Regions from separate parts of the Homo sapiens genome. Here all the other regions are linked to region 1. Evidence: promoter capture Hi-C in 16 types of primary human blood cells and fetal thymus (Javierre and others, 2016). All regions are on one chromosome and are shown on one strand. The core of a region is centred on a gene start or on the middle of the fragment in contact, and the rest is flanking DNA. Distances in the headings are between cores, read along the strand shown.

What was found. The method cuts DNA at HindIII sites, captures the fragments that hold promoters and counts their contacts. A CHiCAGO score of 5 or more calls a contact.
Region 2: a fragment that was not itself captured here is called in contact with the fragment with the promoter of GLRX in region 1 in 4 of 17 cell types (naive CD8 T cells, non-activated CD4 T cells, erythroblasts and 1 more); the score reaches 10.1 in naive CD8 T cells.
Region 3: a fragment that was not itself captured here is called in contact with the fragment with the promoter of GLRX in region 1 in 2 of 17 cell types (total CD8 T cells and naive CD8 T cells); the score reaches 5.5 in total CD8 T cells.
Region 4: a contact is called between a fragment that was not itself captured here and the fragment with the promoter of GLRX in region 1, in 1 of 17 cell types (non-activated CD4 T cells). The highest score is 6.0, in non-activated CD4 T cells.
Region 5: a contact is called between a fragment that was not itself captured here and the fragment with the promoter of GLRX in region 1, in 6 of 17 cell types (total CD8 T cells, monocytes, M2 macrophages and 3 more). The highest score is 7.3, in total CD8 T cells.
Region 6: a fragment that was not itself captured here is called in contact with the fragment with the promoter of GLRX in region 1 in 3 of 17 cell types (monocytes, non-activated CD4 T cells and total CD4 T cells); the score reaches 5.7 in monocytes.
Region 7: a contact is called between a fragment that was not itself captured here and the fragment with the promoter of GLRX in region 1, in 7 of 17 cell types (fetal thymus, naive CD8 T cells, total CD4 T cells and 4 more). The highest score is 8.8, in fetal thymus.

The regions. Positions count from the first base shown.
Region 1 is chr5:95,820,914-95,824,666 of GRCh38, forward strand. It overlaps GLRX (glutaredoxin), which reads right to left and starts at 1,813. Exons shown (of 3, transcript NM_001118890.2): 1 at 1,543-1,813. The coding sequence starts at 1,749. RefSeq lists enhancers at 185-324, 2,241-2,330, 2,561-3,061. The HindIII fragment of the contact is 7,969 bases long and covers 1-3,753 here.
Region 2 is chr5:96,701,561-96,705,313 of GRCh38, forward strand. All of the region lies in intron 3 of CAST (calpastatin), which reads left to right. Among named protein-coding and RNA genes, the nearest start is that of CAST, 41 kb to the left of the region's middle. RefSeq lists a silencer at 1,116-1,245 and an enhancer at 1,485-1,984. The HindIII fragment of the contact is 5,929 bases long and covers 1-3,753 here.
Region 3 is chr5:96,683,649-96,687,401 of GRCh38, forward strand. All of the region lies in intron 2 of CAST (calpastatin), which reads left to right. Among named protein-coding and RNA genes, the nearest start is that of CAST, 23 kb to the left of the region's middle. The HindIII fragment of the contact is 3,675 bases long and covers 324-3,753 here.
Region 4 is chr5:96,667,923-96,671,675 of GRCh38, forward strand. The region is part of intron 1 of CAST (calpastatin); the gene reads left to right. Among named protein-coding and RNA genes, the nearest start is that of CAST, 7.4 kb to the left of the region's middle. The HindIII fragment of the contact is 767 bases long and covers 1,285-2,051 here.
Region 5 is chr5:96,651,180-96,654,932 of GRCh38, forward strand. It overlaps a transcript of CAST not described here. Among named protein-coding and RNA genes, the nearest start is that of CAST, 9.3 kb to the right of the region's middle. The HindIII fragment of the contact is 3,089 bases long and covers 347-3,435 here.
Region 6 is chr5:96,611,882-96,615,634 of GRCh38, forward strand. The region is part of intron 4 of LOC101929710 (a long non-coding RNA gene); the gene reads left to right. It also overlaps a transcript of CAST not described here. Among named protein-coding and RNA genes, the nearest start is that of CAST, 49 kb to the right of the region's middle. The HindIII fragment of the contact is 1,613 bases long and covers 1,324-2,936 here.
Region 7 is chr5:96,333,453-96,337,205 of GRCh38, forward strand. All of the region lies in intron 3 of LOC101929710 (a long non-coding RNA gene), which reads left to right. All of the region lies in intron 1 of LOC107986365 (a long non-coding RNA gene), which reads left to right. It overlaps LOC124901034 (a long non-coding RNA gene), which reads right to left and starts at 314. Exons shown (of 2, transcript XR_007058881.1): 1 at 41-314. It also overlaps a transcript of CAST not described here. The HindIII fragment of the contact is 536 bases long and covers 1,669-2,204 here.

The sequences.
Region 1 (3,753 bases), core at 563-3,062:
GACACCAGCCTGGCCAACATGGTGAAACCCCGTCTCTACTAAAAATACAAAAATTAGCTGGGCATGGTGGTGGGCGCCTGTAATCCCAGCTACTTGGGAGGTTGAGGAGAACCCAGGAGGCAGAGGTTGCAGTGAGCCAAGATTGCACCATTGCACTCCAGCCTGGGTGACAAGAATGAAACTGTCTCAAAACAAACGAACAAACAAAACTAATGCTTGGCTCCCACCTCTGACATTGTGATTTAGTTATTGAGGGGCATAATTTGGGCATAAGGATTGTTTTAAAAGCTCTCTAGGTGATCCTAATGTGCAGCAAAGTTTGGGAACCAATGGCTAAAAGGTCCTCAGGGTGGCAGCCACAGTGGGGCCCGTAGTAGTGTTTGCACTGCCCTTTACACCTCTCAGGGCCTGGGCATCCTATGCAGCTGGTGGTCCCACTAGGCAGCAAGAGCTTCTCTCGTCATTGTGTATACTCCAGGACCTCAGCACACAGCAGTAGGATAACACACTAAGCCCCCTTTCTGCACCAAAATGCTGACTTCTTATTAGAGAGAAGGGGAGAGAAACAACCTCCAATGCTTTATACTCAGAACCCAGAGACAACCTTGTAAGTCAAACTAAAACTGAAATAGGATATGTGCTTGGCCTAACACTGTGCTGTAGAATTCGTGCATCGTAAAAGAGAACTTAGCTGAGCTGGTGGGACATTTCTCATCCCACCTCACAGCAGAACTGATACAGGTGATGTGGCTGGCATCCCTCCTGAAGCCCAGGACGCAAAGCCAAGGATGCTGAAGAGAGGGAAGTCTTTCGGATGGAGGAGAGCAATTTTTAGAGGGTCCCACAGTCTATTCGTAGCAAATGGGACTCTGAGGTCACCTAATCTGGTCTTGCAGCTGGGATCTTTGAGGACTACTGGGGTGGTGACTTGCCCAGGATCACACAGCCAGCCATTATAAGAGCCAGGCCAGAACTCCAGGCTATGATTCCCTACAATGTGGGGCCTGGAAACATCCATAATTAATTTAGAACAAGGGGCAGATAACGGTACATTAGATTTTTCCAGTGGGAGGAATTAGATAAGGAAGAATGAGCAAATTAGAAAAAGAAAGCCTAGAGAAAAGAATGAAGAACATGAATCTCATGTTAAATAACAAACACATCACACCCGGCCCTCCACCCCAGCTTCCACCTCCAGCCCTGCCAACTGAAAACTGTCATTTCCTGGCAGTGCTTAAAACAAAGACTCTAGATAATTCCCCAGGGACTCACCGGCAAGCTGCTGGTCCCACTTACCCTGCCGCACAGCAGACATCAGCTGTACTCCCTCTTCTGCCCCGTGAAGACCTTTGGCTGCAGTGCCGCCGCTCATTCAAGTGACCGAGATCCTCTCTAAGGCGCCCTCCCCCACACCCCCCGCCCCGCACAGCCCTCTGGACGCCTTGAAGTACGGAGCCGCAGCCTTATCCTAAAGAAAGGCACAGCTCTGACAAGAAAAGGCAATCCGGGAGCCTTTCCCTAGCCGTTTAAAATGAAACTCACCGTTCTTGCTCCCGTGAGCTGTTGCAAATAATCTTGAATCTCGTTAGTGTGGTTGGTGGCTGTGATATCGACAAATTCCAGAAGCCCTTGTTTGATGGGCAATTGACTGAGGATCTCTTGGGCCCTCCTGCAGTACGGGCAGGTGGGCTTGATGAACACAACCACCTTCCCAGGCTGGATTTTGCAGTTCACAAACTCTTGAGCCATGCCGATGGGCTGCGGTCTCCCCGGGAAGAATCCTCAGTTGCAGGTATTGCTTGGGGTATTGAGCCCCGACCCAGCCAGTTGGCTCCTATTTAATAAGGAACCTCCCTGGAGGCGGAGTTTGCCTGGTAGCTTGCTCGAGTTTTAAAGGGACAGCTTCGAAGACATTTCCATCTGGTATACTTCACTAGTTAGCAATGCCCAGGAATGCAATACTTGCTATTTAATCATTGGTAGCTATGAAAGACACTCTGGGTATCTTTGTTGTCCTTGGACATTTGGGGAGTGCCTGCCCATTGGCAATGATCAGAGTTTAGTCACCTCTGGGGAAGCATAAAGTGCTTACTCACAAAGGGGCTGAGGAGGCAGTGACTTCTTAGAGCAAATTCTTGTTTTCCCTCTAGGAGATACAGTTGTATTTTAAAATGCAAACAGAATCACTTAAGAAACAGAACACTTGGAAATCTCTTTAGAAGAAGTGAAATTGAAACTGTGACTTTGCACTCCTCATGAAGGTTGCTCTCACAGCATTTTGCTTGGACTGTATGGTGGGTGTTTGTTGTTGTGATCTTTTTAATGGAATTCATTCTCAGTATTTAAAAATCTGGAGGTCTCACAAAACAATTCGGACTTAAAACTTCTCTCTGAAAAGTCAGGTCGGGCAATACAGAGCTTGCACCTTTTAGTGGAAGCTGCTGGGGCTGACAGCTGTTGCCCCCTTTGTATAGGGCAAGTAGTGGCTTTGGTTTGCCACAGGTCCCAACGACAGGCCCATGCCTGAGACACCGGCTTCACCCCATAACCATTTGAGTTGGTAACCCTTGAACAGCAGTTTAATATGGAGGCAAATTCCAACACAATCCTTGATACAAAACTACAGATGAAATGAGAATCTTTTTTTCTGGTTGAGCCTATGTTTGTGACCCTCTGCTTTTAACTGTTTGTGAGGGGAAGTAGTGTTGTAACTCAGACACCACATTCACTTCAAGTGTTATAAGACACGGGTTGTAACAGTAGGAAATCTTTCGCTCTTCCCCAGGGTGCCCATTCTCCTTATCCCGCAAAGCAAAGTCCTCTACTCCTGGGTCTAGTTCCGGCCCCCTCTAGTGTATGGTAGCTTAAATAAACAAATCAAGGAAAAACTATGTCCTTTAAACGTGAATCATCCTTTCCCCAGGAAGTTTTATGGTGAAACCAGAGTATCTTCAAAGAGGCGGGGCCAAGGCCAGAGCTGGACACCACGACTGCCACGTAAGAGGAATCCCAAGCATACTGCGATCAAGGGAAGGGAAGAAAATCCACTCCCAGAAGCAGCTTTTTACTGTGACTCTCATCGTTACTAGAATTAAAATGGCAAAATGAGAAAGCCAGATTCTGAGTCACGGAGGGGGAGCTAAGTGACAGCTCTGTCCAGAGAAAAGGATGTGGCAGGGCTGGGAGGCCCCTCACGTGGTCAGGGCTCCGGACTTCCCACTTCCCACTTCCCTCCAAAGTAGGCTCTGCCACAGAGTCTGAGCCTCCTCTCTTTTTTCATTCTTTTACCTCAGAACCCTGTGGCCAGGCTCCTTCCAGAGGCCCCTGCCAGGAGGTCCAGGGTCTGTTTCAGGGCCCTCAGGCTGTTGCCTTAAGTTCCCTCAGCCTGAGGTTTATCCACACGACTTGCACCTGCTACTCACTCAGAGCCTTTCTCTTCTCCGGTCTGTTGTTGGCTCCTCCCTTCCTGGTGCCTCAGCCTGCCACTGTGTTCAAGTTAAAAGCCACCACCACCACCACCACTCCCCATTTCCTGCTTTCCTGCCTCTGCCCTTTCATGAAATTTACTGTCTGTACCTTTCTCACCTCCATTCTCTCATTTTGTTGTTATCTGACCTTGTCAACCATTCTGCTGAATTGTTGGCAGACACTAATCATGGCCTCTATGTCACCAAATGACCATTTAGCTAGGTATCCTGACCTTTTGCAAATTAGTCACCTGCCCCAAGAGGCTGGGATCCAGGGAGACTATTG
Region 2 (3,753 bases), core at 705-3,204, 880 kb after region 1:
TTGGGAGGCTGAGGTGGGTGGATCACTTCAGGTCAGGAGTTCGAGACCAGCCTGGCCAACATGGTGAAACCCTGTCTCTACTAAAAATACAAAAATTAGCTAGGTGTGGTGGTGCATGCCTGTAATCGCAGCTACTCGGGAAGCTGAGGCAGGAGTATTGCTTGAACCTGGGAGGTGGAGGTTGCAGTGAGCTGAGATCACGTGACTGCACTCCAGCCTGGGCCACATAGCGAGAATCCCACCTCAAAAAAAAAAAAAAATTATAAGGACAGGGTCTTCTGCTCTGGAAATGTTAGAATCTTAAAGTTGGAAGGGCTCTTATTTCACTAGATTTTTGACAGAAATAAAAGACAAAAAAAATAAGGTAGCTGTGAGGAGTACCTTGAAAGGTACATCAGAGGGCCCTAACTGCCTTGGCTGCCTGGTGGGGTACAAAGCTGTATGGATGAGTTCACCTTTTTCATGCCACTGGCCATCATTTGTCATGACTCGACACAGCACTGTCCAACCTGTCCTGAGGTCTGTGTTCCTCAAACAGTGACCAACACTACCTCCTTCACTCACACCCCAAGTTCAGGGTTCAGAGCCTTTAATGTGGTTGGTGTACGGCTTTTCATTTATTTTAAAATTTTTTATAATTATTTTCTCTAACTCTTATCATTCAATATTTATTAGTTGGCCTTCTATATGAAAGAGTGGCTTAACCCCTCTATTTATTCATTCATTTATTTACAGCAGTATAGACTCATGAATTTATATTGTATTCAATAGCTTCAAATCTATTCTAATTTTGAAGTTTGTAATATACTATAATATAAAGTAATCGGGTAGAATTCTTACTGTTAAACTACTCTTTAAAGAAATCCATTACACAGTTTTAACTGCATTTGCAAATCCCTGGTTGTAGTCATTACTAATCCACTTTATAGTTTCAAAAGAGGTCTTCGGGGGAGCATATTTGCGAAGTGCACCCACCGTCGTTGCCTTATTCTGGTAGTCACAGGGTGACAGCCGAGGGAGCGGTAACCTGTAATCAGCCGGCGGTGCGCAGCCCACACAGCACGTGGTCCGCATCACAGGCTGCGTTATTGAGTGAGCCAGTCTCCAGATGCCAGGCGCATGACGAGTCCACGGAGCGGGACCTCCCTCCCCACGCATCCCGGGCTCCCGGGGCGGGGCCGCCGGGCAGGGGGGCGGGGAGCATCCTGCGTCGCCTTCCCGGGACCGCCCCGCCCCGTCGCACTCAGAGAGCTGGGCTGGAGCTCCAAGCGGAAACCGCGGGAGCCGAGCCCAGCTAGGAATGCAGACCTCCTGAAAACCAAGCCGAGGACTGCGGGGTCCGGTGTCCACGCAGAGTGAGTACTGTCTTCCGCCGCTTTGCTCCAGGCCGCGCGTGCTCCCGGGTCTAGGGCCTGTGCCCCCGGCTACCTGCCCTGCGTGTCCGGGGCCTGGTCCCTGCAGCGGACTCCCCAGGCTCGGGACGTGCGCTTTTCCTACTATCGCGACCCTGGCGATACCGTGCGTTCTGAGTTTAACTGTGTTTCTTGGCGACTCCTCCTCCTTGTCGGTAACACTGTTACTGCCCCTTCCGCCGGGAAATGTATCTGGTGACCGGACGCGTAGGGTTACAAAACAAGGGATTTGTGTGGCCCGGTACAAGTGGCCCGAGACAAGTGGCCCGAGACAAGTGGCCCAAAAGAAGGAAAGCAGCAGCTATGTCAGTTTGGTTTGGCACCTTTATCTCTAGGGTTGGAGATAGATCTCCTCCTCCCCAGCCGTGCCGCCACCCTGTGATGACCTCCGTTTTAGAGCGTGAGCTCACTCTGACCTTTCTGCGTACCTGATACATGCTGGGTGTGGCGTGGCAAGTGTTGTAACCTGTTTCGGTTCCATTTCCTTTACACAACCTGAGACGGTTGTAGAATAACATCACTGAGGGTTACTTTGTGTCTATCTTTTAAGAATACAAAGTGTTTTCACAGAGATTTAACTTTCTCTTCTGTATGGTTAGGGACCCGGCATTCTCCACTTACACACAGGCAGGGGGAAGTTCTTTATTCCCATTGTACAGCTTCAGAAAATGAGGCAGAGAGTTTAGACAGCTTCCCTAAGGATCGGGACTTTGGGGCCTCTCTAGTTTTCTAGGAAACCACCTATGCATCAGAATGACAGAAATGCTTAATCAGCAGCTCTGGAAAGTTCCTGCTGTTTCACATGTTTTTCAGAGGAAAAACCTCTGCATTGCAGGGAAGCTCAACAAGGAGTGGCATCTACTGTTCAAAAGGGGAAAGTCTATTTCCTAATCAGCACTAGAGTTTATATTAATATAGATTGCTTCTTTCTGATGAATGTATTCGACTTTTGTGCACTGATTTTTCAGTATCTAAAAGGAATATTGAGTTGTTGGGAATATGCTGGGGAGGGTGTGCTGCTTGGGTTCTAGGAGGCAGTATAGGATTAAAATGAAGTAGTGAAATTTAGCAAAATCTTGCTGAACAAGGAAAGGCCACACCTGTAGACTGATGGAGAAGGAATAAGCCACCTATAGCAATGAGGCTGACTAGGGATCCCGTGTGTGTGCAGCAAGGACTCCTGGTGTCTATTACGAATCAGCATGCTTTGTAGACTGTGAAACAGTGTTTATGAAGCAGCACATTCAAGTATAAATATTGGCTGTGGTTCAGTTCAGATGCTTTGAAAGAAGAGTCCGAATGCCAGAGAGTAGTTGATTATATAGAATTAGTGGGGAGTTTTGGTTCCTTGATTATTCTCTGGCAGAATTGACTAAGTATAACATCTGTACTGCAATGAAAACATAAAAGCTAGTACGTAAAGTAACAGTTTGAAAGAATGAAACCAGAAAGAAAAAGAAAGCATTTTCTTTTCATTTGAATAACTTCTGAAAATCAGCTGAGTATTTATGTTTCTATTCATTGTTTATAATCACAGTTAACTTTAAGTGATCACTACTTCTTAGGTGGAAACATTTACTTTTTCTCAAAATATGAACTGTCTTAATTAGTCCTATTCAAATAAAAACTCCATAACCCATATTCTTCTATGTTCATATATATCTTTGTATCTCCTCTTTCATTATACCTTATAATTCCCTCAATTTGGAGATCATACGAATCTGGGATATCTGTTTTAGCATTGGTGTGTCTAACCTCATAAGAACATATCGCATAGTTTTTCTGATACATAGAATTAGCAATCTGCTTACTAGAAAATTACAGGAGGTCTTCATGAACATTGCATTTAATTTTTTCTCTATGGACGCTCTTGACTTAAAAATGTCATCTTAATGTTTCTCAAAAGGCATAGTCTTGGCATTTTGGGTGACAATTCTGAATTAGATAGAGCTCTTTGCTCGCACTGAATGTCAGAGCGTGACCGAAAGCACTTTCATGCATTTAAATGAACTTTGGTTGGGTACTACATCCAATTTTTTAAAATTGAATAAAACATATTAAAAAGGGCTAGGGACGGTGGCTCATGCCTGTAATCTCAGCACTTTAGAAGGCCAAGGAGGGAGGATCGCTTGAGGCCAGGAGTTTGAGACCAGCCTGAGCAACATAGCAAGACCCTGTCTCTACAAAAAATTTAAAAATTAGGGCATGGTGGCGTGCACCTATGTGGCCCCAGCTACTTGGGAGGCTAAGGTGGAAGGATCAGTTGAGCCTGGGAGGTTAAATTGTAGTGAGCTGTGATTGTGCTGCTGCACTCCAGCCTGACACAGCGATGAGACTCTGT
Region 3 (3,753 bases), core at 911-3,410, 860 kb after region 1:
TACATTTGTCTTTCTCTATAAGTCTTCATAATGTTGGTCACTGCTTGTTTTCCTATGAGCAAAACTTATTTACATAGATATTAGAATTATTTTCCTATGTGGAATGTGTCAGATAGGTTTTCATGAGCACTGCATGAATTTAAGTTCAAAGCTACAATTAAAACTCCTGGCATTATGTAGACATTAAAGCAATCTATTTATCCTAAGATACAAATTCAGTTTGAATTCTGAGAGAAATTTAGAAAATTTACAAAATTTAGGACAAAAACTCTGTGCCATTCTGAGACCACAGTGAGAGCATCTTCTTTCTCATCTGTTGTGAAAGCTTTGAAGAGCCACACTCACAACTCAGTTAACCTGCTATTGATCTGTGGTTTCTATAGAAGCAGCATATGATACATTCTGAGTGTAGGGTTTAGGGTCCAATGCCTGGATTTAATTCCCAGCTCTGCTAATTCCTAGCTCTGTGTCTTTAGGCAAGTTACTTTGCCTCACTAAGGGCACATTCCTTATCTGTAAAATGAGGATACTAATAGTTCTTACATAAGAGTCAATGTGAAGAACAATCAGACCATCCATATGTAGTGTCTAGAACAGTGCCTGGGACATATGAGGTGCTCTATAAATCTTACCTCCTGTTATTGTTATTATTATTATTGGTGTTACTTTATTATTATTAGCTCAGTAAAGAGAACTTGTTTGGCAATAAAGGTGAGTCTCGTATTGATGTCTACCTATGGGATGGGGCAGGGCTCAAATTCTTTGGTTGATTATATATTGCAGCACCTTCCCATTAAAAAATGAGGGAAGTTTGATAGTTTATTAACTTTAGTAGCACTTTTGTTGTAAAACCAACTACATGCAACATGCAGAAACATACGCCAATAGCTAGAACTAAAGACCTCTGCATCACTATCTTTTTTTTTTTTTTTGAGATAGAGTCTCACTTTGTTGCCCAGGCTGGAGTGCAGTGGTGCAATCTTGGCTCACTGCAAACTCTGCCTCCTGGGTTCAAGCGATTCTCCTGCCTTAGCCTCCCAAGTAGCTGGGACTACAGGTGTATGCCACCACGCCCAAATAACTTTTTTAAAAAATATTTTTAGTAGAGACAGGGTTTCGCCATGTTGCCCAGGCTAGTCTCGAACTCCTGACCTCAGGTGATCTGCCCACCTTGGACTCCCAAAGTGCTGGGATTACAGACATGAGCCACCATGCCAGACCGTATGCATCACTATTCAATGAGCTGTTTTATCAGAAGCTAAGGATGTACTTTTTAAAAAGAATATGAAAATAATGTGCCTTTAAATTAAGAATCTGTGATATACAAAATGTTGTATCATTGGATAGGGAATGGTATTAAAAAAACAACTGAACACTTTGCCTCTATGAGAGAATATATAAATATATATATATAAATATATCAACATTATATCATACAATAATAATATACCCTTCATTATCTTATTTTAGATTTATGAGCTGAATTACCTAAGATCTTAGGTCCCACCAAATTGTCTCTGAAGAGATTATATTTTATTGCTTGTGGAATCAGAGTAAAATACTAACAAAATATTGACGGAATTGAATGGATGTTCAGTTCACTTCAGCACAGATCATAAGCACTAGAAACCTCATGGACAGATGGATTAAATATTATTCCAGAAATAACATGTTTAAAGTTAACTTTTTTTATTCTTCAGACTTTCTTAGCTTCTCAAAAATAATGGGATGACTGGTTCAAAAGGGACAATAACCTGAAATCATACCCATAGCAAGATATCTGTCTTATCTAAGGACTGAATATGTATGATTCTTATCGTAATGTCAATATTATTTTTCCACATAACAAAATACATAATGGCTTGTACATTATAAAAATAGTTCATTTGTGAGAGCAAAATCTCATGGCAAATTTACATCATAGTCTTTTATTTTCAAGTATCATTATTACAGAATGCTTAGTAAATGTGTAGAGCATTGTATTAGTACCAAAACAAATTTAAAACTCTCTGTTTCTCATTTTTCAGGATATGGCATGAGATAATGCAGTGATTATCAACTCTTTTTGTGCCTAAGAATCACCTGGGGATGGTATGAGAAATTCAGACTCCTAGGCTCCATCTCCAGAGACTGATTTAGATCTAAGGTGGGCCCAAGGAATCAGTATTTTTGCCAATCACTCCAGGTGATTCTTCTCTTATGCCAGTGGTCTTTTGAGCACATTTTGAGTAACACTGAAATAATTCTTGTGGAGTGCATAGCATGGTGCGTAGCACACATAAACATTGATTTCTTTATTTCTTTTTTCTTTCATTTTTTTTTCTTTTTCAAATGACCTCTCCTTTTCCCCCCTGACCAACTCACTCTGCCATATTGTGGGAATACAGTAGAGCACACTAAGAGAGCTGCAGTTTCAGAGTCAGTGGACCTTGTGGGAGGCTTTGGTTGGAGGGATCAGTTACTGATACTATTTCTTCCCACTTCTCCCAGGACCTTGTCCTTTAGATCTTTTGATTATTCCTTTTTTTTTTCACTCTTTATTTCATGACTCCTCTTTAGACTACATATTAGCTCAATCTTCATCATAAACTGTTTTAAAGCAATTCCTTTGAAACTGCTCAAGCTCCAATTCCATCTCTGCCTCTAACCCTCACTACCAAAATTCCTGGTTAAAATTATTGAAGAAAAGAGTGTAGAGAGAGAAGAGAGAGAAACTAAAATCAAGTGTTGATAAATGCCTACATGTAGAAAGTGGGAAGGATAACTCAAGTCAAAGAAGCAGCAAGCAAAGAGGTAGAGGAAGCTGGGTGCTCCCTGTCATCAGTGTGGGGGGTGCAGGAAGAAGTGGAGGGTCAGTAGGGCTGAAATGCTGATATTTCCAGAGGGATGGGGGCTGAGGCAAGGTCCTGATTGGAGACTGGGATAGTATCAGTTCTCTTCCAAGCTGTTTTTGTGGAGTAATAGAAGGTTTCCATTGTACTGTGATTATGATTGAGAGGGTGCTGAGTATGTGGAGATTCTGCATGGTAGATTCTTCTTCCAATGTATGTAGATTTATGTAAAGAACAGCAGATAAAGCAATGAAAAATGAAGTCAGTGTTTACTTACACAAAAAGAGATAAGTTCTGTAAGGAAAAAAATATTCATGTTACTTGTTAAACAATAGTAAGGCAGACTTCATTCCAGACCATTGCTATAGGTGTAGGGACCACTGCAAGGGAATTTTGCAGTAAGAGGGGAGAAATTATAGGGGTGGCTGGTTTTTCCAAGAGTTGACTCCATAGCCAACCTTAATTTTAACAATCTAATTCCATGTACATCATTCTCAAATATTGCATTCTATTATAGTTATTCAAGGCCTTGGTAGTATTTAGCTCCAAATATAATGAAGAAAAGTGGGGATTTTTAGCTAGGAGCAGGGCCAGGGATCGTTGGATGGAAAATTAAAAGGAAACATCAGGGATAAGGCGGATTCTGGGAAAAGTGACCTATAGGATTCTTGCTTAAGGCCAGCGGGTGATCAGATCTCACCTGGCGGATGGTGGAGGATGAGGGGACTTGATCGGATAGCAAGAATGGAGGATTCTGACTAAAGTAGCCTGTCAGTATTCTTGCTATGAGTGGGTAGTGCAGAGATGAACGTGGAAGTCCAACAATGAGGCCTAATTGAAAAAGAGCTCAGAGGAGCCTGATTAGAATTTAGTCAAGGAGAGAATCTTTGTCAGTGTGACTGAGACACTTCACATGTTATAG
Region 4 (3,753 bases), core at 418-2,917, 850 kb after region 1:
GAGAATGGCGTGAACCCGCGAGGCGGAGCTTGCAGTAAGCCGAGATTGCACCACTGCACTCCAGCCCGGGCGACAGAGCAAGACTCCGTCTCAATAAATAAATGAATAAATAAATAAATAAGTATAATGACCTCTTCATATACCAATCATTGGTGTCAATAATTGTCAACATTGTCCTAATCTTGTTTTATCTGTTAACCGTCACAGCTACCAGCACAGACACGCGTGCACACACACACACACACACACACCCTTTCAACATGTTTTAAAGCATGGGAATTGCAAATATAAGTCATCCTTGTAACCAAATTGCTGTAGTTTGTTGGGAAAATGAATTCTTTAACCCCCATGTAGTTTATCTCCTTGAGTGTTATACGAAGATGTGAGAATAATATATAATACACAGTCATGAGATAGACAAAGTACTAAACAAAAACTTAATCAGATGAACCTGATAAGGTTCCTTTGTACTTTAGGGAAAGTAAAATACTAAATTCTTCTGTTCTAATGTTTACAGCCTTAGAAAATGAAACCCTCAAACCTTAACTCACTGGCTTCTAATTCACCACAGTCAGATTGCCAGGGAAAAAGAAGGGAGTGAAATAATTTTAATTGTGTTCTTAAAATGAACAAGGCAATGAACCAGGTGCCTCACTAATGTCAACTCTTTTCATAAATTTGCCAGCCCCTGGGATAGATACCATTAGCCCTATTTTACAAAAAGAAACTGAAAAATTAAATTATCTGCCCAAGGTCACGGTCATATAGCCTTACAAATCTAGGCTGTTTCTGCCCTATCAGAGTTTATTGCAGTCAACTAACAGACAGAAATGACTCTGAGTATTTAAAACAAAGGGAGTGTAACATAGGGAATTGGTTACCCAGGTAAAAAAAAAAAAGGCTGGGAAGCCGTCAGGGGAGGGTGAGGCAACCCAGAGATTAGAAATTGCAGGAAGCTGCTACCATCCCTAGTCTAGAGGGACACAGGGAGGACAAGGGTCACCTTGCAGAAGCTGGAACCACAGCCAACCCATCCTGCAGGAGGTGCTACTGGAGGAGGGGGTGGGGCAAAGGGAATACCACCCACCCACCACCTCTAGTCTCCTGGCAGCGCCTGCTGTTGGCTAAACCCAACTTGAGGCCATCCATCAAGAGAATTGCAGCCAGCAAAGTTCCACTACAATTTGAACACAGCAGAAGTGGAACAAGGAATCCACCTGAAGGCAGACAGTTCTAGGATCTGCACCCAGGGAGACTGTTCTGAAGCAAAACCAGCTTTACAGAAGCTTTGGTCCATCTGCTTGTTTGCTGAATAATTTTGCTTTAGCAAGTAGAATACATATACAAATATATTTTAAGGCATTTTTGTGGGAAATACCAATTTGCACATTGTCTCTTAATTTTTCAAGCTACCTTCTTGGCCTCTTTCTCTTTTGTCTAGTTTACTGATCTGAAAAGAGCAAAATTACTTCTCAGGGAATGTTTATAGGTTTGTGGGAACATGGTCATTCAATCAAGAATTCTTTGTTATGGTCCTACCACACATCTAGGAAAAAAAGGATATAACTTACCCTGTGATTAGGAAGGCAAGATGTAAGTTTATAAAGTAATCAGTAAGCAAGAGAGTGTACAATAAAGTGCTAATTTGTTTGATTTACTGAGAAAATAGAGATTAATGTGCAAATATGAAAATATGATACTCCATTAATAGGGCAAAGCTCAGAATTTGACAGGAAACACTGGTGTAGACATAGGGCACTGTGCTGCTTCACTGACCAATCAGAGTTTACCCAGGAGGAGCCCAGAGCCACCCCAGTCTGCCTGACCCTGGGAACCTCCCCATGGGTGCCGACTCAGTGGGATGGTTTGAGGAGCGGAAACTTCCGCTTCCTATCATGGTGCCCATAAATCTTCCCCCAAAACCAGTGGTTCTCAATCCTGGCTGTATATTGGAATCATCTGGGGAACTTTAGAAAAATTTATCCATGGCAAGGCCCCATTCTATTCAAACTAAATCTAAATCCCTGTGCCCTGACACAAATGTTTCTAAAAGCTTCCCAGGTGCTTGTGACAGGCACTGAAGGATGGGACCCACTGCTAACCTGAAGTCTTTGTGATCCTCAGGAGCCCCTGGTAGAAGCCTTTCTCAGTGTGTGTGATGGTAGAGAGCTGAGTTCCATGAGCTCGGAGAGTCCAGAGGGTATCAAGATAACCTTTTATTGCTCCATGATTTTTCCACAGCTGTCCCTGGACATGCAAATACTATCTCGATGAAATTGTCGCCACATTGAAGAAGGAAAATGTTTAAGTTTTCAAATAAATCACCCACCAAGACATATGATACAATATGTTTTAGTATAGTCACAGGGTGGTCACAACCATCAGCACAATTTTACTTTAGAATGTTTTCCTTTCCTCCTAAAAGAAGCCTCATACTTTAAAAAATAATAATAATAAAGCAAAGGCATTTCAGAAGCACACTAGCATTTCATACTCTTTTCACAGCTGGACTTAATGCTGGCAAGGGCTGCTTTTCTGTCTTCTTGCTTCTTTTATATGTGAAGAAGTTTCTTTGATTTTTTTTTCTTTTTTTTGTGATGGAGTTTTGCTCGTTACTCAGGCTGGAGTGCAATGGCACGATCTCAGCTCGCTGCAACCTCCACCTCCTGGGTTCAAGTAATTCTCCTGCCTCAGCCTCCGGAGTAGCTGGGACTACAGGTGTGCACCACCATGCCCAGCTAATTTTTGTATTTTTAGTAGAGACAGGGTTTTACCATATTGGCCAGGCTGGTCTCGAACTCCTGATCTCCTGATCTGCCCACCTCGGCCTCCCAAAGTGTTGGGATTACAGGCGTGAGCCACTGTGCCCGGCCTAGTTTCTTTGATTTTTATCTTGTTTTGTGTGACATGTTCCCTTGGCTGTCTATGTATCTGTGTGTATCTGGGTAACAACAGGGCAGGTGCCCAAATGTGGCAGAGTTGAACCTTGCCCTGGCAGAAGCCCTTAGCTGGGTGAGAGCTCAGGCTCTGAGCCTTATTGCACTTAGCTCTTATTGATTTTTTTCAGATTTATGGGTTTGCTATGGCAGATTTTAAACGTATAGAGGCTGTCACCTAGAATGAGGACAAACGACAGTTGTAGTTGCCAACTATGTGATAAAGGGGGTGAAAACAGTTTGGAAAATTATTCCTTCTTGAGTTAAGATAGCAAAGCCCTTGATCTGATTTTTTTCTCTGGCTCTGAGCTTCTGGAGCACATACCACCTTCATCTTAGCCCCCATCTAGTCTCCTGTCTTCTATGGCCTTGTCCTTCCAGTGAAATTCTTTACTATGGCATCCTGTCCTGCTCTTCCTGTCTTTGGCCTCCTCTCTAGCTGCCAATACAGGACAGTATTGTGTGTTCAGTTCATTTATAAAACAAGTTTTAGAATAGGAAGTTTTCATGTTTTGTTATTTTTCGTGCCTTTTGTTTTGTTCTCATTTCAGATCACCCGCATGCTCTAAAGACTTTCTTGATGAAAATCCTAAGATCCTAGTTAGCTTTTAACTAGATCCAAAGTAGCCTAGTCTTTGGCCCATGTAATCCTGAGTGGTATCACCATGGAGAACATCGCTGTTCAGATCTTCAGTTGCTTTATTCATGAACCAAGGCGACAGTGGGTACTCCCTAGAGCTGCTATGGGTAGCAAAGAAGACCACATAGGAGATGCCTGGCACTGGGCCTAGCACAGAGCAGATGCTTAGGAGGTGTT
Region 5 (3,753 bases), core at 641-3,140, 830 kb after region 1:
CTACTGTGCCCTGGGCTCCTCAGCAACAAAGCACTGTCTAGTTAGAAAGCAGAACAGCAACTTGTAGTGGGACAAGAACTTCGGTTTCTCCACCACACTGCAGAGGATGAACCTTCAGCCTCTGAGACATTCTAACGTGGGACAGAGCACCAGTGATGTGCCTAGGGAAGTATGTGTATGTGTGTGTACTAATATCAGTCAATGCTGGTTTTTTAAGACATCATTACTTGGTTGTATCTTCTCTGCTTTCTCTGCTGTCTTTTCAGAAATCCTACTGGATAGATGTTGTATGTCTTGAGTTGATATCTAATTTTCTTATCCTGTCTCTACTGTCCTTTCCTTTGTAAGCTTCGCATCTCACCTGAGGTTGGGAAGGGATAGTTGCCTTGATGTGTGAAATGGAAGAAAGAGACTGAGGTTCTAACTGCAATCTGTAAAGATTTTCACCCATCTCTCTCTTTTCAGCCCATGCCCCACCTCCAAACCCTGAGCTTTCAAACTGGCATTAGACCTTGCTCACTTCTGTCCGTATCTCCCCAGCAGACTCTCAGGCTGTAGCTTTCTCCATTCTGTAAAATTTGGTTTCTATTACACCTTTTACAAAAATGTGTTGATATATCATGTTTGTAATTGTCTCCTGTTCTGTGCCATTTATCCTGTAGGTTTAGAGCTTTCCTATTTGTTTTAATTTCATTTACTCTCAGTGAAGTTTCAGGGGAGAGAAGGAATAAAGACACACATATTTAATCTGTGTGTTAAATCAGAATCTCCCTGTGACATGTTTTTAAAAGTAACAGCCCTGCAAGGTATATATTAGTAGGCTCATGTTACAAAGATACTGAGTCTCAGAGAGCTTCGGTAAACTTCCTAAGCACTTACTGCTAAGGACCACAACTGGGATTCAAATCCATATGCAATTGAATCCAAAACCCCTGCTTTTCACCAGAGCAGATCTTCCTGCAGTGGCCACTAGGGCAGCGTCAGAGGACCTCCCAGGGATGGTTCTAAGGAGATGGTTCATAGCAAACGAGGTCCAGACCAACCCTTAGGTATCTTCCAACCTAGGTTGTAATAATTGGCTTTGCTTTGTTTGATAATTACAAATGATTTCCTACATGGAGTCTATAATTAGAATACTCATGGTATAAAAATAACACACGTTAGGGAAAAATGTAGAATTGATGGGTCATGGGGATTTTTTTAAACAAAGATAATTGGTGTAATACCATTTTAGCCTAAGTACTAAATAGTGCTCAATTAAAACTCTGGAGGAGGAACATAAACAGAAAAACTAGCTGAGTAACCCACAGCACCTAATTATACATTTAGCCACTCATCCAATCAGCTCACAGCACACCTACAGAGAGGAAACCCTATGTTTAGGTGACTCCTCTGTGAAGCCTCCACTTAAATGCTCTGTGTCACAGAGCCTCCTGACACACAGCATTTGGCCTAACCCACTCAGGGAGTAAGATATGTGCCATATGTTCATTTTAAGATTTCCCTTGGATGTGTTATTTGCACATGGGATCATCTTGCCTATATTAAAATGACACAATGCAAAATATAAGATGTGATATCTGATGTATCCCAGGAAAAACAGAGCTCATGACAGAAATTGGTGGTCACAGGGACTCCAACAGTCAGAGGCTGACTACTGCATACTTCAGAAGGGGCACAGACTGCACGGGAACCATAATCCCTTTCTGCAAGACAACAGGTTTGGGAGAGGTAGCTAGGCACCAACTGAGACCACACCCTCTTACCCACCTGCTGTGAGGAACTGGTTTGGCTTGAGCACAGTGCTTGAAGGATGTCTCCTAATCCTTGAGACCCATCAGGGTCCCTGTTGAGCCTGAGTTTCCCACAGCCATTATCTCCCAAATTAATGGCAGTTATTCCATAGTTTAGTGATTGCCTTCATATTTTCTCACAGGCTCCAGGGACACATCTACTCTGTGCCACAGTTATCCTATATCCTCAGGGTGGGATCAGACCTCACAGGGAGTCTCTGTGTCTGAGTAGGCAAACCAGTCCAGATTCATTGCCTTGGGGCAGGGCTAGACCCCACCTGGTATTGAAGTTATGCCAGACATGTGTTTTTAATCACATTTTTTTCCTCAAAGTCAACTGCATAATAAATTCATAATAAATAAATGCTGTCTCATCTAGAGAGTTCTGGGAGACCTAGAAAAACAGATGATTAAAAGAGAACAATTGAGTTGTTGCTCCAGAAAGGGCAACAATTTGGAGAGGAAGTGTAGTTAGTAGACCTGGCTTTGGAATCTGGCTCTGCCACCTCCCAGCTGTGGATGAAGTCTTACCTTCTTAAAACACCCATCTCCTTCTCTGTAAAATAAGGGTACAAATAAAACCTCGTAACATTGCTGTGAAGGTTTATAAAATGCATATAAAGTCCTAGATTAGAGTAAGCAAAAGGTAAATCATAGATGAAATAAAAATTATTTAAAAGCTCTTTTCTTTTTCTTCTTTTCTCTCAGATCTTTATCTTGTATCTTAACCCAATATTTAGAAGACGAAGGAATATTTCATTTTGGCTTCTTTAGAAAGAAAAGAAAAAAGAATTTGGGGGCCAAAATAATTATCTTTAAGTATTTGAAAGACTGAAAAGCAAAATAAATAAATAAATAACTATGAGTCTTATTCTGTATTTTTCTAGTGGTAGTTTTAGTCTAATATTTGTTGTTTCCCCTTAAAAATACTACTTAATTTCCCCTTTTTCATTCTTGTTGCTTAACTATCCTTTTTTCCTTTTTCTTCTTCTTCCCCTCTCTCTTTTCTCTTCCCTTGTATCTCTCCTTTCTCCTTATCGTTTTCTTTTCTTTTCTTTTTTTTTTTTTTTGAGACGGAGTCTCACTCTGTTGCCCAGCTGGAGTGCAGTGGTGCGATCTCAGCTCACTGCAACCTGCGCCTCCCGGATTCAAGGAATTATCCTGCCTCAGCCTCCCAAGTAGCTGGGATTACAGGTGTGCACCACCATGCCTGGCTAAATTTTTTTGTATTTTTAGTAGAGACAGGATTTCACCATATTGGCCAAGCTGGTCTCAAACTCCTGACCTTTTGATTTGTCTGCCTCAGCCTCCCAAAGTGCTGGGATTACAGATGTGAGCCACCGCACCCGGCCCATTTTCTTTTTTCAATTCTTTTTCTTACCTTTCTTTCACTTTCACTACTTTCCTCATTTATGCTTCCTATATCTTTTTCTTAAGAAAACCAAACTGTGGAGTACATAATGAAAGCAAAAAAACCTCACGTGTAGTGTGCATAGCTACTGTATATTACCAGTTTCAAAAACAAAGCACTCTCTTTTTCTCCGATGTTATATTTTAATCTGAGAAGTAATATTTGCAGAGTTTTCAGTGGTTTGAAGGAAGTAAAATATAACACAAATATCTTCTAGACATACACAGCATAAGCTTTTACTTGACTACACTCAGATGTTATCAAGAGTAAGTTCATTAATAACTTGCTGTTATATCAAAATTGGAAAATGAAAAGTAAGAAAAAACAAAAAAGGGGCATCTGGATTTTCAAGAATATTGCAATACATTTGGAAGTGGAAGCTGAGCACACAAGAAGAGAACAAATAAAGACCATGTATATTTGTGTTAAATTTGGGGAGGGCTCACATGATAAAAGACCTTCATAGCTAGCTCAAAAGTTAAGACTTTCCTTTTATTATTTTTATTGTATACTATGTGTTTATTGCAAGAACCATTAAGAAATATAAGA
Region 6 (3,753 bases), core at 880-3,379, 790 kb after region 1:
AACCGCATGAGACACCATCTCACACCAATCACATAGCTATTATTAAAACGTCAAAAAATAACAGATGTTGGTGAGGATGCAGAGAAAAGGGAACACCTATACACTGTCGATGGAAATGTAAATTTGTTCAGCCACTGTGGAGAGCAGTTTGGAGTTTCCTTGAAGAACTAAAAATAGCACTACAATTTGACCCAGGAATCCCATTACCATGTGTCTATCCGAAGGAAAAGAAATAGTTCTACTAAAGCTATTCCTGTACTTGTATGTTCATGGCAGCACTATTCACAATAGCAAAGTCATGGTGCCCACTAATGGTGGCTTAGATGAAGAATATGAGATACTTAGACACTATGGAATACCATTCAGCCTTAAAAAGGAATGAAATCATGTCCTTTGCAGCAACATGGATGCAGCAGGAGGACATTATCCTAAATGAATTAACACAGAAACAGAAAGTCAAATACCACATATTCTCATTATAAGTGAGAGCTAAACATTGCATGCATGTGGGCATAAGATGGGAACAATAACACTAAGGACTCCAAAACAGGGAGGGAGGAAAGAGAGCAAGAGTTGAAAAACTACTTACTGGGTACTATGTTCACTCTCTGGGTGTTGGGTTCAATAGAAGCCCAAACCTCAGCATTTCACAATATATCCACGTAACAAACCTGCATACATACCCGCTGAATCTAAAATTTGAAGAAAATAAAACAAAAACAGAGAAATCTGCACTTGTACCGGTTTAAAGAAATAAATACGTTTTAATCTAATCAAATATATCAAATCTTTTACTTTATAATTTTGGTTTACTGGATTTTGTTAATATGCTCTTTCTTACACTGAGATTATGCAAAAATTCTTCTGCATTTTCCTCAAACTTATTTTAGTTTTGCTTTAGATGTTTAGATCTCTTATCAACGGGGTAACAATTTATCTTTGTGTATGATATAAACAAGAAGTCTAAATAAATATACACACATATATACATACATACACACATATATACATGTGTAAATACACAGTACATGTAATTTTTCTCTGTGGGTAACCAATTAATGTTTATCAGTTAGCCCATGCATGTTCTATTGATTTGTAATGCCACTGCTTCATGTATCCAATTTCCAAATATGTATGAGTCTCTTTCTGAACTCTCTATTCTGTTCCACTGGCAAGTCATCCATCACTGTGCCAATAGCACACTGCCTGAACTACTATAGTTTTATAATAAGTCTTGATATCTGGTAGAGTGACCCTCTCCATCTTCTTCTCTTTCAGAATTTTCTATTCCTAGCTGTTTTCTTCCATTCAAATTTTGAAATAAGCTTGTCAAGTTCAGCAATAAAAATCCAGTTGAGGTTATAATTTGAATTGCATTAGAATAGATGGATTTGAAGATGAATGACAGTTTTCTTCTTATCCTTGAACATGGTTTCATCTCTCCTTTCATTTAAGTATTCTCGAAGGTCTTTCAATGAAATTTCATACTTTTTTCATATTTGCACATCCTTTGTTAGATTTAATACTAGGTACTTCAGATTTTGTAATACTACTATTTGTGCTATCTGTATTTTCTGTTTAAGTCTTCACAACCCTATGAGTTAGATATTTTCACGTTCATTTTCTAGCTAAGGAAACTAAGGTCCAGAAAGATTAAGTAACTCACCATGTTATCAGTAGTCAGTGATGGGGACGGGATGCAAAACAAGTTCTATCTGACCCCAAATTCTGTGTTCTTAACCTCCAATCCATACTCTGTCTTCTGATGATTGTCTTTAAAGCATTTTTAAATGAAACAACTTAAGGGTATTCAAAGGCACAAAACAACAACAACAATAGTAACTACCTATCTCCCTGGAGAAAACGTTAAGTACCTCAAACTTTATTCTCTATACAAATAACCTGGGACTTCTATTACAATGTACATCTTAATCCTGTAGGTCTGGGGTGGAGCCTGCAAATATTTAGGTATTCCCAAATGTCTTTCAATGAAATTTTATACTTTTTAAAATAATTGCACATCTTTTGTTAGATTTAATACTGGGTGCCTTATACTGTTTTTTAAATTGTTGTTCATTTATCTGCATTGTGAGGCTGGGTATCCTCACAGCCCTATGAGTTAGATGTTTTATGTCTATTTTGTAATGAAGGAATCTAAGGTATAAAGTAACTAACAATATATCATCAGCAGTAAGTGACCAGGTAATACAAATGCTGCCGGTCCAAGGAACCCCTTCCAGAACCACCACTAACTCTACAGCATTTTCTGGTGAGGAACCCTTTAATTAACATGATTAAAGGTGAGAACTCCACCAGATGGCAGCAGAAGCTCATCATTTTGTCTCAAATGATTCCATTTCCCTCTGGATGGAGTGTTAGCTGTTGGCAAATGCCTGACTCGTTAGGTTATTGCGGTGAAGTGAATCAGAATCAGGGCCTTTCACTCCTGATGCTGTGTGCAATCTTACCTACTACAGCGCCTCAGTGTTGACAAGGGATTTTCAGCAAAAGCATCCAGCCGGGACATGCCCACGAGCTTCTCCCAAAAACCTTATGGCAGGAGGCTTATAAATGAGAATGAAAACTGTTTTCCATGGGTTGCTTTTTCATCACAGTGAGTTCAATTTAGGTACTTAACCAAGAAAAGGAAACATGATTTGAAATGTTTGGCAGGGGATTAGAAGAGGAAATGATTCATTCACTGTGGGGAACGGGAAGCTATTCAGGCAGATAAACCTGAAACAGAGTCCAAAGATTCAGAGGAAATCCAAGAATAATGCCAGGGACCCACCTCCATCCAAAGCCTAGGCCCAGCCTCTCCCCAGGGGTGCCAGATTACCCCTCTTCCTCAGTGCTTTTTTTCTTTTTAAAAACTGAATATATATATATAGTTGAATTATGAAAAGGATCCATCATCTTGTACTGCTCCCACCCTAAGCTTGGTAAAATGAGGCACCTGTCACTAAGAAGGCTAATGAGTTCATTATATTCTCTTGCCTTTTAGTTACTTAAAAGCAATAATTTGGGCACTGGGGAGGCCCTCAGCGCTGCCTTGAGTGAGCTGTGAGTAGGCTTTAGCCTAGTATAGGCAGCCCCCAAATTTCAATAGTTCAACTTAAGATTTTTGAACTTTACGATGGTGCAGAAATCATATGCATTCAGTAGAAGCTGTACTTGGAGTACCCATACAGCAATTCAATTCTGTTTTTCAATTTCAGTACAATATTCAATACATTACATGAGATATTCAGCACTTTATTATAAAACAGGCTTTGTGTTAGATGATTTGCCCAACCACAGGCTATTGTAATTGTTGGAGCATATTTAAGGTAAGCTAGGCTAAACTATGATGTTCAGCAGCTTTGGTGTATTAAGTGCATTTTTGACTTACAATATTTTCTATTTCCAGTAAGTTTATCCCATCGTAAGCCAAAGAGCAGCTGTACAGGATGGCATTTGGCAGTCCCTAGGCAGGTCTCACTTCCTCCTCTCCCCTTACTCTGCCATAACCATCTCTCCCATTGACTCAGTCAGCACTGTCTGTGCTGCTGCACAGGGCTGTCTCCCAGAGTGTGTTCACATAGTCCAGTCTATCAGATTGCTTTGCTAATGTGCCAATGGCAACAGGGAGAATGAAACAGACAAGGATTCTGTGGGCTGTCCTTGGCTGAGACGCACATTGAGGGAGAATTCAACCTGCTCCACCACGCCAGGCCCCAGGGAAGGAGGCCAGGGAGCCTAAGAGGGGTCAGG
Region 7 (3,753 bases), core at 687-3,186, 510 kb after region 1:
AAGTGAATGGAAAGGAATGGGGCCCCATGAGCCTTCTCACCTTTTTTTTCTTGCTTGGTCTTCCCGACTGAAACCAGCATCCTCCCTGTTCTGATCTGGGCAGCCTCCTGGAGTCAGGTGGGGCCAGGGACCAGGTCCAAAGCTGAAGCTCCTTCTTCCTGCTGTTGGAGGTCAGCTGTGGGTAGGGAACTGGACTGCTCAAGCTTCTGTGGTGAGACCTGGAGTTGGGGAGGCCTCTGTGCGGAGCAATACTGGTGGGCGAGGGGTGTACTCAGCACAGTGATTGCTCAGGGAGGCTCTGGAAAGGGTGTCTGTTCCAACTGAAGGCAAAATGAGAGAGAACAGGCTGAAGCTCTGCTAAGCTGTGTGGCGTTACATGCAACCCTTAGCCTCTCTGAGCTTCATTTATTCTGATTTTAAAAATACATGCAAAAGGAGTACAGTGCAGCTTCAACTGGAGCAAGCAGCAGGTCCCTTCCAACATCAACATTCTTTGAGTTCGTAAGTCCAAGACTCTATATTTTAAAAATATTTTTATGGGTCTCAGACCCTCACTTCAACACCCATTTCATATGCTCCTCACTATTAGCAAACTTGCTACCTACTTTGTTCAGAAAATTGAGTTGTATTAGGGCTGAAGTTTCTTTATAATACTCAGGTGCAAGAAATGTCATATAGCACAGTTTTGTTGTTGTTCATTGTTAATTCAAGTTTGAAATTCTCCCTCCAGAGTGTGGCAAGGGTCAGTAGCAGTCATTATTGGAGGTTCTGCTCTCCAGAGGCAGTCAGGCATCCTTGGAGGATTGCTCAGTGCAGAAAATTCTAGGAGAGACCTCTTTTCTCTAGCCTATCACAGTCACTGCTTAGTTGTTTATTGGCTGGGCCAGAAAGGTCCATTTAAAGGCTGGAGGTTCTATTCCTAAGCCCACCCACCCACCTCCACCCCTAGTGCAACTTGGGTGAGGTGGCCTGGTTCTCACTACTGGGAAACTCAGGACCCTGCACATCTATAAGCCACACCATCGGAGGTTCTGCCATCTTCAGGGAACTGTATTGGAAGGGCCTGGTTTTCAGCCTGCTGCACAACTTTCTGCCACTGGCCCCTTTCTCTGTTCCAGAAAAGTCACCCCCACGGTCCTGTCACTCACTTCCTTCAACTACAATGCCACTTCCTCAGGTATGAATATAGCCACACAGTAGGCATAGTAGTGACTATTTGCAGAATCCCAATTAAATAACCACTTCAAACAAAAGCCTAGGATGGAGCTGCTACCTCAGTGTCCCAGAAACTCGTTTTTCACCTAGAAGCACAAAAGTGATCCTTACCCTTGGAGGCAAGATCAGGAGCGCACAATACAAGGGCTGACTTGTTCATCCACTGGAGACTCTGCTACAGTATAAATGCAATATCAAAAATGATATCTAAATTCATTATCCTGCTATAGAGGCAAATGAGCATGAGCGCCTTCCATTTCTTGCCTCACCCATGCCTAGGAACAGAGCTCCACTCACACCCTGCATTATCGTCCTCCAATTTCAGAAGATGCATTGTCTCCTTTTGTTCAAGGCCGACCCCAGTTACACATGCCAAGACCAGGTTCCACAGCCATCCTCCCTCTTGAAACATCCACCTTTCCTCTTGCAGGGGTATGTCCTCTTCAGACTACAAGCTTACTCATCTCCTTCCCATTCATTAAAAAAGAAGTCTACCTTTGACCCCCATGTCCTCTTAGTGATGTCCTATCTCTTCTTCTATTTCATCCAAACATCTTTAAAGAGTTACCTATACTCAGTGTGACCACTTCATGTGCCATTCACTCTGCATCCCCTGCAATCTGGCTTCTGCTTTTGGTAAGGCCACCCATATTGTAGCTGGAAAATTCAGTGGACATTTTCCAATCTTTGTCTCACTGTATGTTTCTGGGGCATTTGGCCATGTTGCTTGTGTGCACCACTCACTCTCTATGATAGTCATATTATATTCTCTCAGCTTGCCTCATTTGTTTCTGTTCTTTCCCAACCATGGTCTCCTCTCCCTCCATCTACCACCCACATGCTGGGGTTACCTACCTTTCTGTTTTAGCCTACCGCTCTTCTCATTACTGATACTCTTCTTGGGTGGATTTTTCTACACTCAGGATTTCAGCTACCATCTGTATAGTAATGACTGTCTAGTTCAATCTCCATCTCCAATTTCTCCCCCAAGCTTTAGGCTCACCAATTCCATCACCTGCTAGGCAGCTTTTCTTGGGCACTCTTCAGACATTTCGGATTCAATTGCTCAAAAGCTACATGTATCACTTCCCTCCAACCTAAACCTCTATTTGTTCTGTTACCTTCTCTTTACCCAGTGACAAAAGTTATAAAATGTCTGCCTTGACTTTTTTCTTCTCCTCACTCCCTTTATCCAACTGATCATTACATCCTGATGTTTTCCCCTCCTATGCATTTCTCAAACCCATCCTCTCAACTCCACTCCTACCACCACTACCCTATCTCAAATGCACCTTCTTTTAACTGGACCAATATAACAGTCTCTCAATTGGCTTCCTGGTTTCTAGACCTGGCCCACTCCATTCTCTCTCCAGAGCTACCTGAATGATTCATATACAAAACAGTAATCTGACCCAGTCCTTCTCTTGCTAAAGTCATTCTGAATCTACACAAGGAAATTCAACCTCCTTTCCTGGGGCTGTCCCTTGTCTATCTCTTAAACCTTAGCTCCTACCACCCGCTGCCCCCTATTTTGACTCCAACTCTCAACCGGCAGTAGTTCTCTGCAAGTCTTCTGTTCTCTTTCTGTTCTTTACTTGCACATTTACCAATAAATATGTTTTACTCCAGTGTATTAGGTTAGTATTATAAGGGAAGTTTCAAGTTCATTTCATATTAAACATTAGAGCCTTCATGCTTAGGGAGAGAGGGAAAAAGAGAAAAAACCCATAGCTAAATACATAGTTAAGTCGCGTTCTTCTCCAACGCAGCCAAAAATTGGACTGGGCCTGAGATATTTGTGTGCCCTGTTTGATTGAAAGCTGTTAGAAAGTATGCCAAACATTTTAGATTTTTCGCTCCCAGAGTTCTTGTAAACCCGGCAGAACTTGTCTGTTATGAAGAGTGGACTGCCCTCTAGAGGTTCCCATTGGAAGGAGCACATCAAACCCACAGTGTTAAGGCATTCTGCAGTTTCTTGTGAGGTTTTGCTGTAGACATTTACTATTACTGTTCTTTGTCCCCAAAATGCTTTTCCAGATGTCTAATTCTGAGTCACACATTTTTAATTTACTTTGGGAATAGAGATTTGGGGTAAAGCATGTGATGGACCTCAAAACACTCAATTTGGAGTCAGGAGATGTGACTTTTAGTCCCGGTTCTTCCTTTAATATCTGAGGACTTAGATTTCATGTCTGTTAATCAAGTAGTAGAAGATCACACTTCAAAACTGTGAATCACCAGAAAGTATGTTTTAGGAGTAAAACTGGGAAGAGTTTCATTAATTCAGTAAATATTTAATATGGAAGACCCTGGGGTAAGAGCTGTTTTGCAGAAGCTAGGAGTTTACGTTTGATCTTTACAATGTTAGATGAAACATATTTGAAAAAAAGACACTTGGAAAACATTTGGGCTTGCAATTTAAATGGATGAATTTAACCCTGATATCATAGAACCCTGAAAGCGAAACTGAGCTAAAACAAAGTAAAACTTACTCTGATTCCAAGGGTCTCTTCTGACATGAGAGTGGAAATGAATCAC